Regions from separate parts of the Homo sapiens genome. Here all the other regions are linked to region 2. The links are contacts of gene promoters, found by promoter capture Hi-C in human tissues and cell types (Jung and others, 2019). All regions are on one chromosome and are shown on one strand. The core of a region is centred on a gene start or on the middle of the fragment in contact, and the rest is flanking DNA. Distances in the headings are between cores, read along the strand shown.

Region 1 (4,376 bases), core at 76-2,575, 1.3 Mb after region 2:
GGATTAAGATATTACAGTAAAGACAGGCATAAGAAATTATAAAAGTATTATTTGAGAACTGATAAATGTCCATATTAAAGTGAAATCTTCACAATTTATGTTCCTTTGCCGCAGCTCCATCTGGTCTCTCTGTTTGGGGTCCCTGCCTTCCTGTAACACATTGTGGTTTTGATTTGCATTTCTCTGATGGCCAGTGATGATGAGCATTTTTTCATGTGTCTGTTGGCTGCATAAATGTCTTCTTTTGAGAAGGGTCTGTTCATATCCTTCACCCACTTTTTGATAGGGTTGTTTGATTTTTTCTTGTAAATTTGTTTAAGTTCTTTGTAGATTCTAGATATTAGCCCTTTGTCAGATGGGTAGGTTGTAAAAATTTTCTCCCATTCTGTAGGTTGCCTGTTCACTCTGATGGTAGTCTCTTTTACTGTGCAGAAGCTCTTTAGTTTAATTAGATCCCATTTGTCAATTTTGGCTTTTGTTGCCATTGCTTTTGGTGTTTTAGTCATGAAGTCCATGCCCATGCCTGTGGCCTGAATGGTATTGCCTAGGTTTTTTTCTAGGGTTTTTATGGTTTTAGGTCTAACATTTAAGTCTTTAATCCATCTTGAATTAATTTTTGTATAAGGTGTAAGGAAGGGATCCAGTTTCAGCTTTCTATATATGGCTAGCCAGTTTTCCCAGCACCATTTATTAAATAGGAAATCCTTTCCCCATTTCTTGTTTTTGTCATGTTTGTCAAAGATCAGATGGTTGTACATGTGTGGTACTATTTCTGGGGGCTCTGTTCTGTTCCATTGGTCTATATCTCTGTTTTGGTACCAGTATCGTGCTCTTTTGGTTACTGTAGCCTTGTAGTATAGTTTGAAGTCAGGTAGCGTGATGCCTCCAGCTTTGTTCTTTTGGCTTAGGATTGTCTTGGCAATATGGGCTCTTTTTTGGTTCCATATGAACTTTAAAGTAGTTTTTTCCAATTCTGTGAAGAAAGTCATTGGTAGCTTGATGGGGATGGTATTGAATCTATAAATTACTTTGGGCAGTATGGCCATTTTCACGATCTTGATTCTTCCTATCCATGAGCATGGAATGTTCTTCCATTTGTTTGTGTCCTCTTTTATTTCGTTGAGCAGTGGTTTGTAGTTCTCCTTGAAGAGGTCCTTCACATCCCTTATAAGTTGGATTCCTAGGTATTTTATTCTCTTTGTAACAATTATGAATGAGAGTTCACTCATGATTTGGCTGTTTGTCTGTTGTTGGTGTATAGGAATGCTTGTGATTTTTCACATTGATTTTGTATCCTGAGACATTGCTGAAGTTGCTTATCAGCTTAAGGAGATTTTGGGCTGAGACGATGGGATTTCTAAATATACAATCTTGTCATCTGCAAACAGGGACAATTTGACTTCCTCTTTTCCTAATTGAATACCCTTTATTTCTTTCTCCTGCTTGATTGTCCTGGCCAGAACTTCCAACACTATGTTGAATAGGAGTGGTGAGAGAGGGCATCCCTGTCTTGTGCCAGTTTTCAAAGGGAATGCTTCCAGTTTTTGCCCATTCAGTATGATATTGGCTGTGGGTTTGTCATAAGTAGCTCTTATTATTTTGAGATACATCCCATCAATACCTAGTTTATTGAGAGTTTTTAGCATGAAGTGCTGTTGAATTTTGTCGAATGCCTTTTTTGCATCTATTGAGATAATCATGTGGTTTTTGCCTTTTGTTCTGTTTATGTGATGGATTATGTTTATTGATTTGTGTATGTTGAACCAGCCTTGCATCCCAGGGATGACACCAACTTGATCTTGGTGGATAAGCTTTTTGATGTATTGCTGGATTTGATTTGCCAGTATTTTATTGAGGATTTTTGCATCGATGTTCATCAGGGATATTGGTTTAAAATTCTATTTTTATGTTGTGTCTCTGCCAGCCTTTGGTATCAGGATGATGCTGGCCTCATAAAATGAGTTAGGGAGGATTCCCTCTTTTTCTATTTATTGGAATAGTTTCAGAAGGAATGGTACCAGCTCTTCTTTGTACCTCTGGTAGAATTCAGCTGTAAATCTGTCTGGTCCTGGACTTTTTTTGGTTGGTAGGCTATTAATTATTGCCTCAATTTCAGAGCCTGTTATTGGTCTATTCAGGGATTCAACTTCTTCCTGGTTTAGTCTTGGGAGGGTGTATGTGTCCAGGAATTTATCCATTTCTTCTAGGTTTTCTAGTTTATTTGCGTAGAGGTGTTTATAGTATTCTCTGATGGTAGTTTGTATTTCTGGAGATCGGTGGTGATATCCCCTTTATCATTTTTTATTGTGTCTATTTGATTCTTCTCTCTTTTCTTCTTTATTAGTTTTGCTAGCAGTCTATCAATTTTGTTGATCTTTTCAAAAACCAGCTCCTGGATTCATTGATTTTTTGAAGTGTTTTTTATGTCTGTATCTCCGTCAGTTCTGCTCTGATCTTAGTTATTTCTTGCCTTCTGCTAGCTTTTGAATGTGTTTGCTCTTGCTTCTCCAGTTCTTTTAATTGTGATGTTAGGGTGTCAATTTTAGATCTTTTCTGCTTTCTCTTGTGGGCATTTAGTGCTATAAATTTCCCTCTATACACTGCTTTAACTGTGTCAAGAGATTCTGGTATGTTGTGTCTTTGTTCTCATTGGTTTCAAAGAACATCTTTATTTCTGCCTTCATTTCGTTATGTACCCAGTAGTCATTCAGGAGCAGGTTGTTCAGTTTCCATGTAGTTGAGCGGTTTTGAGTGAGTTTCTTAATCCTGAGCTCTAGTTTGATTGCACTGTGGTCTGAGAGACAGTTTGTTATAAGTTCTGTTCTTTTACATTTGCTGAGGAGTGCTTAACTTCCAACTATGTGGTCAATTTTGGAATAAGTGCAATGTGGTGCTAGGAAAAATGTATATTCTGTTGATTTGAGGTGGAGAGTTCGGTAGATGTCTATTAGGTCCACTTGGTGCAGAGCTGAGTTCAATTCCTGGATATCCTTGTTATCTTTCTGTCTCGTTGATCTGTCTAATGTTTACAGTGGCAAGTTAAAGTCTCCCATTATTATTGTGTGGGAGTCTAAGTCTCTTTATAGGTCTCTAAGGACTTGCTTTATGAATCTGGGTGCTCCAGTATTGGGTGCATATATATTTAGGATAGTTAGCTCTTCTTGTTGAATTGATCCCTTTACCATTATGTAATGGCCTTCTTTGTCTCTTTTGATCTTTGTTGGTTTAAAGTCTGTTTTCTCAGAGACTAGGATTGCAACCCCTGCTTTTTTTTGTTTTCCATTTGCTTGGTAGATCTTCCTCCATCCCTTTTTTTTTTTTTGAGCATATGTGTGTGTCTGCACGTGAGATGGGTCTCCTGAATACAGCACACTGATGGGTCCTGACTCTATCCAATTTGCCAGTCTGTGTCTTTTAATTGGAGCATTTAGCCCATTTACATTTAAGGTTAATATTGTTATGTGTGAATTTGATCCTGTCATTATGATGTTAGCTGGTTATTTTGCTCGTTAGTTGATGTGGTTTCTTCCTAGCATCTATGGTCTTTATAATTTGGCATGTTTTTGTGGTGGCTGGTACCGGTCGTTCCTTTCCATGTTTAGTGCTTCCTTCAGGAGCTCTTGTAAGGCAGGCCTGGTGGTGACAAAATCTCTCAGCATTTGCTTGTCTGTAAAGAATTTTATTTTTCCTTCATATAGGAAGCTTAGTTTGGCTGGATATGAAATTCTAGGATGAAAGTTCTTTTCTTTAAGAATGTTGAATATTGGCCCCCACTCTCTTCTGGCTTGTAGGGTTTCTGCTGAGAGATCTGCTGTTAGTCACATGGGCTTCCCTTTGTGGGTAAGCCGACCTTTCTCTCTGGCTGCCTGAAGGGGGCCACCCCCTCCACAGCCTGTGGGTGTTTCTCGTCAGGTGGGACGAGAGACCAGGAAAAGAAATAAGAGACAGAGACAAAGTATAGAGAAAGAAAAGGGGGCCCCAGGGACTGGCGCTCTGCATATGGAGGACCTGCGCAGCTGGCCCTGGTCTCTGAGTTCCCTCAGTATTTATTGATCATTATCTCTACCATCTCGGAGAGGGGGATGTGGCAGGACAATAGGGTAATAGTGGGGAGAGGGTCAGCAGGAGAACATGTGAACAAAGGTCTCTGTGTCATAAATAAGTTTAAGGAAAGCTGCTGTGCCTTGATGTGCACGAGCACAAACATTTCGGTGCAATAAAGAGCAGTATTGCTGCCAGCATGTCTCACCTGCAGCCCTAAGGTGGTTTTCTCCTATCTCAGTAAACAGAACATACAGTCAGGTTTTACACCGAGACATTCTATTCCCAGGGATGAGCAGGAGACAGATGCCTTCCTCTTATCTCAACTGCAAAGA
Region 2 (4,159 bases), core at 1,660-4,159:
CTGCAAAAAAAAAAAAAAAAAAAAGAAAGAAAGAAAGGAAGGAAGAGGAACCAGAAAGAAAAAAAAGAAAATATGTTACACAACGAGAACAAAAGCACTTTTGATGTGCCTTTTGCTTTCATTTTTTGGTGGTGGTGTTTGTTTTTTTGAGATGAAGCCTCGCTCTGCCCCCCAGGCTGCAGTGCAGTGGTACCATTTCGGTTCACTGCAACCTCTACCTCCCAAGTTCATGTGATTCTCATGCCTCAGGCTCCCGAGCAGCTGGAACTACAGATGCATGCCACCATGCCCAGCTTACTTTTTTAGTATTTTTACTAGACACAGGGTTTCACCATGTTGGCCAGAATGATCTCAAACTACTGACCTTAGGTGATTGGCTCCCAAAGTGCTGGGATTACAGGCATGAGCCACCACGCCCAGCTTTGATGTTCCTTTTTTTTTTTTTTTTGAGATGGAGTCTCGCTCTCGCCCAGGATGGAATGCAGTGGCGCAATCTTGGCTCACTGCAACCTCCGCCTCCTGGGTTCAAGTGATTCTCCTGCCTCAGCCTCCTAAGTAGCTGGAATTAGAGGTGCATGCCACCATGCCCAACTAATTTTTGAATTTTTAGGAGCAATGGGATTTCACCATGTTGGTCACGCTGGTCTTGAATTCCTGACCTTGTGATCCTTGTGATCCACCTGCCTCCGCCTCCCAAAGTGCTGGGATTACAGGCATGAGCCACTACGCCCTGATGTCCCTTTTAAAAAGTACTATGGGCCAGGCGTGGTGGCTCATGCCTGTAATCCCAGCATTTGGGGGGCCAAGGCGGGTGGATCATCTGAGGTTGGGAGTTTGAGACCAGCCTGACCAACATGGAGAAACCCCGTCTCTACTAAAAACACAAAATTAGCTGGATGCAGTGGCTCATGCCTGTAATCCCAGCTACTTGGGAGGCTGAGGCAGTAGAATCAGTCTGAACCTGGGAAGCGGAAATTGCAGCGAGCCGAGATTGTGCCATTGCACTCCATCCTGGACAAGAGTGAGATTCCATCTCAAAAAAACAAAAACAAAAACAAAAACAAAAAACAAAAAACGACTATGTAGGCCAGGCACGGTGGCTCCTCTCTGTAATTCCACCTGTAATCCCAGTAATTTGGGAGGCCAAGGCAGGACGATCCTTTGAGGCCAGAATTGAGACCAGCCTGGGAAACAGTGAAACCCCATTTCTACAAAAAAAAAATACAAAACCTAGCCGGACTTGGTGGCTCACGCCTGTGGTCCCAGCTACTCAGGAGGCTGAGGTAAGAGGATCGCTTGAGCCTAGGAGGTCGAGGCTGCAGTTAGAGGAGATCACACCACTGCACCCCAGCCTGGGCGACAGAGCCAGACCCTGTCTCAAACTATAAATTAATTAATTAAATTAAAATTATTACATAATAACAGAAAGTGATTTTTTTCTCCCACTTCACTGCCCCATTTCCTACCTCACCATGGGAAGAGGGAAGAGAGGCTCTCACAATTGAATTAAGTCACTACCCTCTGGCTGAATAGGGATTCCAAGTGGAAGCTGACCTCTAATGCCAAGATTTACAGAATGTATGTGTCTTATAGATAGGAATTTTAAAATTCTCAATATCATCTGTATAATTTAAACAAGTTCTAAGTTATTAGATTATATAAACAGAAGTCAACATATCACAACTAATCATATCCAATGAACTCACCCACTCATCTGAACCCAAAGTCCCCCACCCCTTTTAATCTTTTGAGACAGGCTCTGCTCTGTTGACCAGGCTGGAGTGCAGTGGCATGATCTCTGCTCACTGCAGCCTGGACCTCCTGGGCTCAAGTGATCCTCCTGCCTCAGCCTCCAGAGCAGCTGGGATTACAGGTGTGCACCATCACGCCCAGTTAAATTTTTTTTTTTTTTGACAGAGATGGGGGGGGGGGTCTCACTATTTTGCCCAGGCCGGTCTTGAACTCCTGGACTCAAGCAATCCCTCTGCCCCAGTCTCCTAAAGTGCTAGGATTACAGGCGTGAGCCACTGCGCCCAGCCCCCCTTTCTTCATTACTGTGCTTCCCTCCCTAATTCTGTACATATCTCTCATTCTCCCCTTCTCTCTCTAGCTCTTGTTTTCTTTTTCCCTGGGATCTGCTCCTCCTGCTGTTTTTTGTTTTGTTTTGTTTTTTTCATTTTTGCTCTCTCTTGGCAAATCCCTCACTCATCCTCTACTTTGCCATCTGTTATGGTCTTTCTCATTCTTCTTTTCTCTGTCTCAGGTTTTCTACTGCTCTCTCTCTCAGTCTCCTGATCCCTTTGGCCAACACAATCACAGGAGGGCTTTGGAGTAAGACGCCTGCATCCCGGAGGAGCGCATTTTCCAGGGGCTGGTGCAGGGCAGGCAAGAACACCCGGTGTCATAGGACAGCCCCGGGCACCTCCCCAACGCGGGCTCAGGGTAAGCGGTGACTGCGGTGGGGAGACCTGGGGAGCATAAGGGCCTGGAACGAGGAGGGAGGTGGGGGGCGACGGCGCCTTAAGACAAGACTGGGAGGCGCCAAGGGCGGGAATCCGCCTCGCGGTAAGGACTTTAAAAAGTGCGGGTCGGGAGGAGTCAGAAAAAGGTTTTGAGCAGGGAAACTACGCGATGGGAAGTGTATACATTGCCCTATAGCAGAAAGATTCGGGAAGGGACCATCCTCAGGGCGACTTTAAACCCAAAAGGAAGCGACCCCTGGACTCTGACGAGGACGTCTAAATTTGCTCTAGGTGAAGGAACACGGGTGAGAATTTCCAGGTCTATGGGGACCCCACGTCCCAGGTACAGAAGCGCCGGGGACTTGGGAAGCGCAGACTTAACACAACACAGAGCAAAACTCACCGCTGCGGTGGGACCATCACTCCATGCGATCCGCTTCCGGGTTTGCGCGAATCTGCGCGCGCAGGACAGAAGCCAGGCCTGGGCGGGACCCGCGGGGAGGTAGGCGGGGCCTGAGCGAGGTAGGGGCGGGGCGCGAAGCGGAGAGACCTTCCCCTTTAGAATTGGCAGAAGGCGGGGCCGGGGTGGGACCCGTGCGTCTCTCAACCTCGCTCCCAGCGCCTCTTGTTTTCGAGCTTTGGAGGCGAGACCGGACAGGAAGGCTGAGGCATGATTCAAAAGCCCTGGAATTGTCTGAAACGGGGATGCAAACTAGAATGTGAAATGCAAAGCCCTGCCTGGGTGGAACATACGATTTCATGCTGACGGCCCACAGAACAGAATAGAAATCCTCTCCCTTTCTATTCTCCATTCACTGGGAAAGGAGAGTCCACCCTGTCCTCAGCTTCAGAGATTTCCCTAGGGCCTCCCCCTGGGATGCGGGACGGAGTGCTCAGGCCAGGGAGGAGTGAGGTCACCACCTACTGCTTAAACACAGCAGAGATGCGGGCGCGGGGCGAAAGCCTGAGGTCCCAGCTACTCAGGAAGCAGTGGCAGGAGGATCGCTGAGCCGGGGGGGGGGTCCAAGTTAGCCTGGGCGACAAAGTAACACCTCCTCCGGCAGCGCTCCCTTCCTCGTCTCTCTCTCTCTCCTTTTTTAAAATTTCTTTAAATAAAATTTTTGATTTTGTGAGTTAGGGATCCAACATTATTCATTTTCACGTGGATATCCAGTTAGTTGTCCCAGCACATTTGTGGAAGAGATCTATTACTTTCATTTTTATATTTAGATTTTTCTTTTCTTTTCTTTTCTTTTTTGAGACAGAGTATTTCTCTGTCACCCAGGCTGGAGTGCAGTGGCGAGATCTCGGCTCACTGCAACCTTCACCTCCCGGGTTAAAGTAGTTCTCTTGCCTCAGCCTGCCAACTAGCTGGGATTACAGACGCGCGCCACCAAGCCTGGCTAATAGTTTTGTATTTTTAGTAGAGACTGGGTTTCACAACGTTGGCCAGGCTGGATTCGAACTCCTGACGTCAAGTGATCCACCTGCTTCGGACTCCCAAAGTGTTGGGATTACAGGCGTTAGCCACCGCGTCTGGCCAGGAAAACTCTTAGAAGTTGCGCCTGCATACCACTGGACTCAGCTTGCATGACCACATTCCTTTCAAGGCTCAGAATTATTTAAAGATCCATACATTTACATTGGAATTATTTGATGTTTGAAATATTTAATTTCCTACCGAGATACGGGTACTG
Region 3 (4,661 bases), core at 2,149-4,648, 1.1 Mb after region 2:
ACATATACAATTTACACATCAGATGAAATAAGGAGTTGTCTCTCAATGACCTATTTTTTAGATGATATTTGTCATCTTTTTTAAAAAAAATTCTTAGAGACTGGGTCTTGCTATGTTGTCCAGGTTGGGGTACAGTGAGTAATCATAGCACAGTACAGCCTTGAACTCCTGATCTCAAATGATCCTCCCTCCTCAGCCTCCCAAGAAACTGGGGCTAACGGTGCACATACTGCCTGGCAGTCATTATTATTTTTGCTAATGTGTATTTCAGCATCTTTGCAACAATAAAAATGTATAAATAGTACTCAGTTTAGTTTATAAACATTATTGTATATTAAGCTATTTAAAAAAAGTAGACCAGCTGGGAGCGGTGGCTCACGCCTGTAATCCCAACACTTTGGGAGGCTGAGGCGGGCGGATCACCTGAGGTGAGGAGTTCGAGACCAGCCTGGCCAACATGGTGAAACCCCGTCTCTGCTAAAAATGCAAAAATTAGCTAGGCGTGGTGGCGGGCACCTGTAATCCAAGCTACTCGGGAGGCTGAGGTAGGAGAACTGTTTGAACCCAGGAGATGCAGGTTGCACTGAGCCGAGATCACACCACTGCACTCCAGCCTAGGCAAAAGAGTGAGACTCCGTCTCAAAAAAAAAAAAAAAAAAAAAAAAGAAAAGGTAAATCATGAAAAAAAAAACATAGAAACTTGAACTCCAGTCACAAATACCTATTTTCAAATATATAAATATAATATGTTTTAAAATTTATGTGAGGTCTTACTATGTTGCCCAGGGTGGTCTCAAACTCAAGAGATCCTACCATCTCAGCCTCCCAAGAAGCTCAAATTATAGGCTTATACTACTGCACTAACCCATTGCTTTGTCCATTAAAATTTATTCTCTAGTGAGAATTACAAACCACTGCTCAAAGAAATCAGAGAAGACACAAACAGAAAAACATCCCATGCTCACGGATAAGAAGAATCGATATAATTAAAATGACCATACTGCCCAAAGAATTTACAGATTGAAAGCTAATCCTAATGACGTTCTTTGCAGAACTAGAAAAAACTATTTTAAAATTCATATGCAATCAAAAAAGAGCCTAAATAGCCAAGGCAATCCTGAGCAAAAAGAACAAAGCTGGAGGCATCAAGTTATCCAACTTCAAACTATACCACAAGGCTACAGTAACCAAAACAACATGGTACTGGTACAAAAACAGGCACAAAGACCAATGGAACAGAATAGTCAGCCCAGAAATAAGGCCGTGCATCTACAACCAACTGATCTTTGACAAAGCTGACAAAAACAAGCAATGGGGAAAAGACTCCCTATTTCATAAACGGTGCTGGATAACCAGCTAGCCACATGCAGAAGATTGAAGCTGGACCCCTTCCTTATACCATATACAAAAATCAACTCAAGATGGATTAAAGACTTCAGTGTAAAACCCCAAACTATAAAAACCTTGGAAGACAACTTAGGCAATACCATCCTGGACACAGGAATGGGCAAAGATTTCATGACAAAGACACCAAAAGCAATCATAACAAAAACAACAATTGACAAGTGATATCCAATTAACTTTAAGAGCTTCTGCACAGCAAAAGAAACTATCAACGGAGTGAGCAGACAACCTACAGAATGGGAGAAAATTTTTGCGAACTATGCATCTAACAAAGGTCTAATATCCAGCATCTACAAGGAACTTAAGCAAATTTACAAGAGAAAACCCCATTAAAAAGTGGGCAAAGGGCCAGGTGCGGTGGCTCATGCCTATAATCCCAGCACTTTGGGAGGCTGAGGCAGTTGGATCACCTGACATCAGAAGTTCCGAGACCAGCCTGGCCACCATGGTGAAGCTCCGTCTCTACTGAAAATACAACAATTAGCTGAGTGTGCTGGCAGGGGCCTGTAGTCCCAGCTACTCGGGAGGCTGAGGCAGGAGAATTGCTTGAACCCGGGAGGCAGAGGTTGCAGTGAACTGAGATCACACCATTGCACTCCAGCCTGGGCGACAACAGCGAAATTCCATCTCAAACAAACAAACGAAAAAAGTGGGCAAGGGACATGAACAGACACCTCTCAAAAGTAGACATACATGTAGCCAACAAGCATATGGAAAAAAAGCTCAGTATCACTGATCATTAGAGAAATGCAAATCAAAACCACAATGAGATACCATCTCATTAGTCAGAATGGCTATTACTAAAAGTCAGAAAAGGCCTGGCGTGATGGCTCACGCCTGTAATCCCAACACTTTGGGAGGCTGAGGTGGGTGGAGATGGTGAAACCCCATCTCTACCAAAAATTCAAAAAATTGCCGGGCGTGGTGGTACACATTTGTGGTCCCAGCTACTCAAGAGGCTGAGGTGGGAGGACTGCTTGAGCCTGGGAGGTAGAGGTTGCAGTGAGCCAAGATTGCACCACTGTATGCCAGCCTGGACGACAGAGCAAGACTCTTGTCTCCAAAAAAAAAAAAAAAAGGCAGAAAAGATTTCCTGAATTTTTATTGCAGAATTTACCAGGTACTTGTGCACATTAATAGGTGATTTCTGTGGGCAGCTTCTCTAATCCTGGTCCACAGAGAGCTGACAGAGCATCCAGATGTGGCCCCTGAACAATCCCTGCTGCCCAACAGCACTGACACCACGGGGCCCTCACCCCGTCTCCACCCACGTCTGGGTGTGAGCCCTTCCCAGGATCACGCCCAGTGCAGCCTCTTCCCAAGTTCATGTCACTGGGTCACAAGAGATGGAATCTAAGCGAGATGAGAGGGACTGAAGGAAGGCATGGGTGAGTGTGAGCAAACCTGTCAGGCAGGATGCTTCAGACTCAGAGAAGATTCTCAACTCCAGCACCCGGCATTTCAGGAAGAAATAAGAAACAGAACAATCTACTGAGAATATCACTTTACCTGAGTAAGTGGCATGCCTGACTCCTCTGCTTTCCTCTTCTGGGCTTCTCCTTCACATAACATGACTTTTTTTGTTTTTTTTTGAGACGGAGTCTCACTCTGTCACCCAGGCTGGAGTGCCGTGGCCCGATCTCAGCTCACTGCAAGCTCCGCCTCCCGGGTTCACACCATTCTCCTGCCTCAGCCTCCTGAGTAGCTGGGACTACAGGTGCCCGCCAACACGCCCAGGTAATTTTTTGTATTCGTAGTAGAGACGGGGTTTCACCGTGTTAGCCAGGATGGTCTTGATCTCCTGACCTCGTGATCTGCCCGTCTCGGCCTCCCAAAGTGCCGGGATTACAGGTATGAGCCCCCGCGCCCGGCCAACATGACTCTTTAGAAGTCAATCCTGAATGTCAAAAATATGCTGTTTAGGGTTTAGAATCAACATACTTTCTTCCTGTGCCACAACCACACACGCAGGGAAGACCTCACCCTGTGGAAATACGGTCCTCTGCTGCCCACTGCATCAGAGTTGATGCCGGGACAATAAACTCCTACAGGAAGAACAAGTGAGCTTTTGGCCCCTTTCTTCAGAACCCGCTCCCCTCCTGGAGAAGCCCACACACACACTGCAGCAGTGGGGAGCTGGGCTGGACTAAGCTCCCCTTCAGGGCACAGACCTGGCTCTGACCAAACCCCATGCAGAGCACAGCACCCCCTCACCTCTTTGTGAATCAGAGGCTGAACTCAGCCTTCAGAAATGAGAACACGGCTTCGGTGCTCAATGCTGGATACAGAATACAGTAAAATCCCTTTATCCAAGGGGATACGTTGCAAAACCCTGAGTGAATGAAACTTGGAACAGTACTGAACCCTATTTACTCCACTTAAAGGATGCCTGTGACAGATTCTCACTGACATATCCAAATTGCCAACATCAATGCTCATGTGCTTGGGGGGCATGTTAAGTAAAATAAGGATCACTTAAACAAAACCAATGAGGTACCACAAAATTGGATCTGATCAAAAAGACTACTATTAAAAACAAAACAAAACAAAACAAAAAAGAAGACTATTAACAGATTGATGGGCAGACAGAGTATACAGTGCATGGGGTCTGTATCCATGGATTCAACCAATTACAGACTTAAATAATTTAAAAAAGACAAAAGGAAGCAATATACCAATATAAAATAGCAATACAATAAAAATAATACAAGAAAACAACCCAGTATAACAAGCATTTACATAGCATTTATATTTAATTAGGTATTACCAGTAATCAGATGTTTACAGTATATGGGAGGGTGCAGAGGATGTGCATAGGTTACATGCAAATGCAGTCACGCATCGCTTAATAACAGGGACATGTTCTGAGAAACGCATTTTCAGACCATTTCATTACAGAGGGAACTTACACAAACCAAGATAGCATAGCCTACTACACATCTGGTATATATAATACAGCCTACTGCTAAAAACCTGTAGGGCATGCTATGTCCTGAATACTATAGTCAACTGTAACAACGGTAAGTACTCGTAAGTCAAAACATATCTAAATATAGAAAAGGTACAGTAAGGCCAGGCACGGCGGCTCATGCCTCTAATCCCAACACTTTGGGAGACCAAGGCAGGTGGATCATCTGAGGTCAGGAGTTCGAGACCAGCCTGGCTAACATGGGGAAACCCCGTCTCTACTAAAAACACAAAAATTAGCTAGGCATGAAAGTGGGTGCCTGTAATCCCAGCTACTCGGGAGGCTGAGG

The links. Contacts are between HindIII fragments. The study calls those that stand out against the background at their distance.
Region 1: a fragment that was not itself captured here is called in contact with the fragment with the promoter of ZNF845 in region 2 in 1 of the 25 tissues and cell types used here (pancreas).
Region 3: a fragment that was not itself captured here is called in contact with the fragment with the promoter of ZNF845 in region 2 in 1 of the 25 tissues and cell types used here (hippocampus).

The regions. Positions count from the first base shown.
Region 1 is chr19:52,052,183-52,056,558 of GRCh38, reverse strand. No RefSeq gene overlaps it. Among named protein-coding and RNA genes, the nearest start is that of ZNF432, 5.5 kb to the right of the region's middle. The HindIII fragment of the contact is 8,170 bases long and covers 1-4,376 here.
Region 2 is chr19:53,332,499-53,336,657 of GRCh38, reverse strand. It overlaps ZNF845 (zinc finger protein 845), which reads right to left and starts at 2,909. Exons shown (of 4, transcript NM_138374.3): 1 at 2,866-2,909. RefSeq lists enhancers at 2,421-2,510, 2,781-2,830, 2,929-3,793 and a silencer at 2,901-3,120. The HindIII fragment of the contact is 26,552 bases long and covers 1-4,159 here.
Region 3 is chr19:52,275,794-52,280,454 of GRCh38, reverse strand. The region is part of intron 1 of ZNF766 (zinc finger protein 766); the gene reads right to left. It overlaps LOC124904763 (a long non-coding RNA gene), which reads left to right and starts at 2,828. Exons shown (of 4, transcript XR_007067331.1): 1 at 2,828-2,917; 2 at 3,000-3,141. The HindIII fragment of the contact is 7,011 bases long and covers 1-4,661 here.